Regions from separate parts of the Homo sapiens genome. Here region 1 is linked to region 2. The links are contacts of gene promoters, found by promoter capture Hi-C in blood cells and fetal thymus (Javierre and others, 2016). All regions are on one chromosome and are shown on one strand. The core of a region is centred on a gene start or on the middle of the fragment in contact, and the rest is flanking DNA. Distances in the headings are between cores, read along the strand shown. Region 1 has its middle 52 kb from the start of LINC01252. Region 2 holds the start of GABARAPL1 (GABA type A receptor associated protein like 1).

Region 1 (3,243 bases), core at 193-2,692, 1.3 Mb after region 2:
GGCATATAGGTTTCTGATATCAAGGCTTTTCAGAGGTTTGCAAAGTAAGGCCCACGGGTCAAATTAAGACCTGTTTGGCCCATAGCTAAGAATTGTCTTTACATTTTTAAGGTTGTTAAAAGAAAAAAAACAAAGATAAATATGTGACATAGACTGTATGTGGTCAGCAAAGTCTAAAATGTCTGCTCCCTGACTCTTTATTTAAAAAGTCTGGGGATCCCTGCTTTCTATGGTTCATTTTGTTTTATTAGATAATGAACACATGCTAATAAAGTTGAATTTAATACTTAAAAACAAGATATCTTCCAAGGAATTTAAAATTGTAAAATTAATACATAGGAAGCATAAGTTTCATGTGTATAGCATATAGAAAAATGCATAATTTTGAAGTTCAGAAAATGAAAAAAATTTGTTCTTAGTCAACAAAAATTCATAAAGAAAAAGAGTTTGTAAAAATGTGAAGGTTCACCTTGGATGAACACGTTGGAAGTAATTCAAGCATTATTGAATTTTTGTATTGAGATGAATGTGTTTTTAATCTTTCAAAATTATATATTATGGATGATAAATTATTTTCTCCTAAACACCAAGTTTTATTGCTTATAGTTTCTCAGTTTCACCTTTACTTTTTTAATGATAACTAGAATATCATTAACACAGAATGTTAATGAGTGAACCATGGCTCAACAGTTTAGTCAATGTGAAGCCAAATTCCAATGCCTCATTTATGATTGCACTTGTATAGAACCCAATAATTTTTTGATGTAAAACTATTGCTTCACCTTATCTACAGACCCCCACCACAGTCCACTTTGTGCCATGTTCTGTAGCTTGTACCTAGAATTAAGGTTTGGATATTTTTGCTGCTGGCTGCCTTTGGTAATTAATTTTATTTCGTCTAGTTTTCTTAAGAGGCAAGGTTACAGGAATTGCCATGTAAATGAATATGCAAGTTAGTAACTTAAGCTTATAGCCAATGCACTATATTTTTAATAGGATAGTAGCTGGATTGATCTGTTTTGCATACAGGTGGTTTTATACAAAGCATATTAGGCATGGGGGAAGGAGCAAAAAAGGAGGGAGAAAGACAGAGACTCTGTCCTGTCCCCTCCATCCAATGAACCAAACTTTAAACACTTAGTTTACGGCAGACTTCCTTTATGATGCATTTTCTTATCCCTCCCTTATCTGTTTTTGAGTTTAGTGTTAACTGTTTTTTTTTAATACCCCACCATATGTTGTTCAAATGTCTATCTATACAACTGTCACACTTCAGGACAGTTGGTCCACATTTCTACTCCTGCCTGCTAGACTGAAGACTCCTTAGGGAAAAGACTGCACCTCCTCTATCTTTCTAGTCCCCTTACCTAATACAGTGCCTACCACGAAGCAGGTAGGTTTGTAAGATGAAGGAATCCATGGATAGTTTGTAATTCTTGGGAGATGACAATGCCTAGTGGGAGTGGCCAGAAGGATTCTTTAAGGATGAAAAAGAATGAAGAGTAATAAGGGGAGGCTGAATGTTGGATGTTCTGGGAGTCACTCCTTCTCCTCTGTGGTTTCTGACCATTGAGAGATCAAATGGGGATGACAGCAGAGATGGCTAAGTTGTCCCCACTATCTATTCTCTCCTTCTTCCAAGGTGATGGAGTCCTCAAATTTTGCCTAAATACATGACTACCCACAAATGAGACTTCAATTCCCAGCATCTCTTGCAGGTGGGTGTGGTCATGTGACTGACATCTGGCCAATGGGATGTAGGCATGTGCTCAATGGCAGTTTCTAGGCCATTGCTTCCTTTTCTCTCCTCATCCTCCAACCTCGATTAAAAGGTCAAGGGCTACATCCAAGGAATGGTGGGGCAGAAAGGAGGAAGGAGCCTGGTATCCCAAGGACTTCATAGGGCAGAGCTGATACACAAGCTTCATAATACAAAATCTGGACTATTGCCTGAGAAAGAAATTAATATTTTTTCATCCTTTCTCTCTTTTCTTTTTCTTTCTTTCTTTCTTTTCCTTCTTTCTTTCCCTCTCTCTTTCTTTCTTTCCCTCTCTCTTTCTTTCTTTTCTTCTTTGTCTTCTTTTCCTTTCTTTTCTTTCTTTCTACCAGCTTTTCCTAGCTTTTTATTGTGGTAAAATAGACCTAACCTAAAATTTACCATCAAAACCATTTTTAAGCATACAGCTCAGTGGCATTCGCACATTTACACTGCTGTGCAGCCGTCACCACCAGCCATTTCCAGGACTTTGCCATCATCCCAACCTGAAACTCTACCCATGAAACACAAGCTGCCCAACTCCCACCTTGTTTCCCCATCCCTGGCGGCCACTGCTTCTGCTGCTATGAACTGGACTGTTCTAGGCACCTCACATAAGTGGACTCACACAATATCTGTCCTTTCATGTCTAGCTTCTCTATTTAATTTTTTTTAATAAAACCTTTTAAGAGACAGGGGTCTCATTATTTTGCCCAGGCTGGTCATGAACTCCTGGCCTCTGGTGATCCTCCCACGTCATCATGACTGACTTCTCTATTTAATTTTTTTTTCTTTTTTTTTTTAAGATGGAGCGTTGCTCTGTCACCCAGGCTGGAGTGCAGTGGTGCAATCTCGGCTCTCTGCAACCTCCACCTCCCAGCTTTCAAGCAATTCTGCCTCAGCCTCCCGAGTAGCTGGGAATACATGTGCATGCTACCACGCCCAGCTAATTTTTTGTATTTTTAGTAGAGACAGGGTTTCACCATATTAGCCAGGATGGTCTTGATCTCTCGACCTTGTGATCCGCCCACCTCGACCTCCCAAAGTGCTGGGATTACAGGCGTGAGTCACTGTGCCTGGCCTCTATTTATTTTTTAAAGGTGGGTGGGAACTAAGTGGACCATAGAGGAGCTTCCCGCACAGGTAAAGACAAGGTCGGGTGTACTGAGAGACGCAGGAAAGTGGGTCAGGGTGTAGGGCTGGAGGGCAGCTATGGCCTCTGGGCCTGGACTATGGCCTCTGCCCCGGGGCACACACAGAGCAAGGGCTGCCCAGAGGAGCCAAGACTGGCTGTCAGCCTGGCCCTGAGCCCAGGGGGAAGGCAGTGAGGGACAGAGGACAGAGTACACAGGTCCTGTCTTTGGCCATAAGCAACCCGAAATGAGGCTTAGTCTCCTTCCTGGAAGCCCACTCTGTGCCTCACATGGTGGGCCCCAGCGTGAAGTATGTGACTGCGTGACTCCAGTTCCTATGTTGACCAGGATGTT
Region 2 (2,814 bases), core at 234-2,733:
CTGTAGAGACAGGGTTTTGCCATGTTACCCAGGCTGGTCTTGAACTCCTGAGCTCAAGCGATCCTCGGCCTGGGCCTCCCAAAGTGCTGGGAGAACAGACGTGAGCCACCGCGCCTGGCCCCCTGTGGGTGTTTTTAAAATTAGAGACACTGAGACCCCGACTGAAGAAGATAGGCCACGGGGCTGCTGTTATCTAATATTTATCAGAACTCACCCGACTTGTATGGGCAACGCAGCCCCTTTTCACTGTTCTTTTTCTTTGCAAACTCCACAGTCCTCCCTGTCGCTGCCCTACAGTACTGGTTGGAAGGTCTTTCTTCTTTGACTCTAGGTGGGGAAATCCAGAACGAGGCTTCGCCTCACCTGCCCTAATGCCCAATCTTCTACTAGCATTCCAGGCAGCGCTTTCTAGTCACGTGAGGGATACCTAACCACTGGAACTAAATAAGATGTGGGGGAACAACTGAGGTCATCACCTAAATTGCTTGATACTCTCTTTTCCAGAAGACGAGCCCCCTTTCTGAGTTTATGGCAGAAAGTGAATCCCTCCCTCCCTCCCTTCCTTTCTTTTTCTGTAAGACGGTGTTTCGCTCTTGTTGCCCAGGCTGGAGTGCGACGCCGTGATCTCCGCTCGCCGCAACCTCCGCCTCCCGGGTTAGAGCGGTTCTCCTGCCTCAGCCTCCAGAGTAGCTGGGATTACAGCCATGCGCCACCACGCCCAGCTAATTTTGTATTTTTAGTAGAGACAGGGTTTCTCCATGTTGGTCAGGCTGGTCTCGAACTCCTGACCTCAGGTGATCCGCCCGCCTCGGCCTCCTGGGATTACAGGCGTGAGCCACCGCGCCCGGCTAGAAAGTGAATCATTTCTATATTTGATTGTACGTGAAGCCCTCGGTAGTCCTTACTGACATCATGTCTCCTTTAGACTTTGATTACACTCCGTGTCCTTCATCTGACTCCTCTCTTCAGATTCCTGAGTCACGCTCTGTTTATGTTGCTGTTCAGGAGCGAACTGCGGCACCGCCCAAACACTGTGACGCCAGCGCGGGAGGAGGGCCGCGGGAGGGGCAGCGGAACGCGCAGAGGGCACGGTGCAAGCACGGGACAGCTCTGCATTGGCCAAAGGGATCCCAGGAGGCCTGGCCCTCTTTTCTCCTGAGGCTGGATCCCAACCAGCAGGAAAAGGCTGGATTTTCGCCTTTTGTATTTGTTTTGGGGCCCAACCAAGAAAAACAGTGGAGGGGGAATAAAACATGTTTAAATCTTTTTTTTGTCTTAAAACCATCTTTAATTTCACAGTCACAAAATAAAACATAACTCGAATGTTTTGATGTTTGCAGTGACATCGATTGTGAAAAAGGTTAGCCAGAAAGGAAACGCAGTGAGACAGAGCGCTCGGCCACCCCCTGCCCTGGGCGCCTGGCGCATGGGGGGCGGGGCGGGGCTCGCGGGGTGACGTCACAGCCCGACGCGCCACCCAGCTGTTTTTGTGCTCCCAGCTCTAGCGAAAAGCCGCCGGTATTTCTCCATCTGGCTCTCCTCTACCTCCAGGCAGGCTCACCCGAGATCCCCGCCCCGAACCCCCCCTGCACACTCGGCCCAGCGCTGTTGCCCCCGGAGCGGACGTTTCTGCAGCTATTCTGAGCACACCTTGACGTCGGCTGAGGGAGCGGGACAGGGTCAGCGGCGAAGGAGGCAGGCCCCGCGCGGGGATCTCGGAAGCCCTGCGGTGCATCATGAAGTTCCAGTACAAGGAGGACCATCCCTTTGAGTATCGGAAAAAGGAAGGAGAAAAGATCCGGAAGAAATATCCGGACAGGGTCCCCGTGAGTGTAGAGGAGCGGAGGGGATGGGAGGGGAAGGGCCCGCGGGGGCGGGGGCGGGTAGTCGAGATGGCTTCCCTGGGGCGCCCAGGCGGCTCTGGAGAAGGGAGGTTCCGAGAATTACTTAATCCTGAACGCCCTTCAGTGCCAGAGCCAATGGACGTCCAGACTGTAGAGCTTTTAAAACCCCGTATGCCTGGGCCCCGAACCCCACTTCAGGGCTGACGGCGTTTTGGGGGCCGAGCCGCCGTCTTCAGTGACTCAGCAACCCACACACGGTCTCAGCAGCTGAGACCGTGTGTGGGTTGCGGTGCACAAAATAGGGCCCCTGTGGGCGAGACTGGTTAGATCGGGGCCATGGATTGGCTGCCTTTAAGAACGCAGGGACATTGTGCTGTGCGGTGAGGTTTGCGCAAACCCAGTCGATTTCTGCCTTGGCTGGTTCTCCTTTAATGAAGTTGACTTTGGCTCTCATATCATTGGTCTTGGGACGAAAAGGTTCAGAAGCTATTCAGTAATTTTCTTGCATTACAGGGGGTTAGGGGAGCACAAGACAGTCCTGGCCTGGAAAACAAGGTCACGTTCTCTGCCCAACAGCCCTCTTGCCTCATCGTTCTAGGCTCCGGGGCTTGTGTGGGGACAGCCAGCCTCCTCGTGTTGATTTCTGATCACCTGGTACCTGGTCGCGATAAGGCAGGACTGAGACGTTTTTTCTCCGTTTTGGACACCGGCTTAAGTAGTTAAAACTACCGCAGGCAGTGAGTAGGAACAGAAAAGTATTAGGTATCTTTCAGCATCCGGGCGTTTTCCCCATTACCCCCTCCCCCGCCCACTTGCCTGGTGTTTCTCTAATGCAGGCTGCGCAGCCGAATTGGAGGGCAGAATATGGCTTAAGTGGTAGGGGGACCAGCAGCTGTTGGATTTTGGAAATGGAGGAGCGGAGATTTTAAAATTGTGCTCTTTATCTTCAGGTAGGAACATTAGTATTACG

What was found. The method cuts DNA at HindIII sites, captures the fragments that hold promoters and counts their contacts. A CHiCAGO score of 5 or more calls a contact.
Region 1: a fragment that was not itself captured here is called in contact with the fragment with the promoter of GABARAPL1 in region 2 in 4 of 17 cell types (naive B cells, total B cells, total CD4 T cells and 1 more); the score reaches 8.0 in naive B cells.

The regions. Positions count from the first base shown.
Region 1 is chr12:11,494,618-11,497,860 of GRCh38, forward strand. No RefSeq gene overlaps it. Among named protein-coding and RNA genes, the nearest start is that of LINC01252, 52 kb to the right of the region's middle. The HindIII fragment of the contact is 956 bases long and covers 965-1,920 here.
Region 2 is chr12:10,211,394-10,214,207 of GRCh38, forward strand. It overlaps GABARAPL1 (GABA type A receptor associated protein like 1), which reads left to right and starts at 1,484. Exons shown (of 4, transcript NM_031412.4): 1 at 1,484-1,826. The coding sequence starts at 1,737. It overlaps GABARAPL1-AS1 (GABARAPL1 antisense RNA 1), which reads right to left. Exons shown (of 3, transcript NR_170310.1): 2 at 2,661-2,814; 3 at 2,256-2,569. RefSeq lists an enhancer at 721-1,263 and a silencer at 1,357-1,616. The HindIII fragment of the contact is 15,130 bases long and covers 1-2,814 here.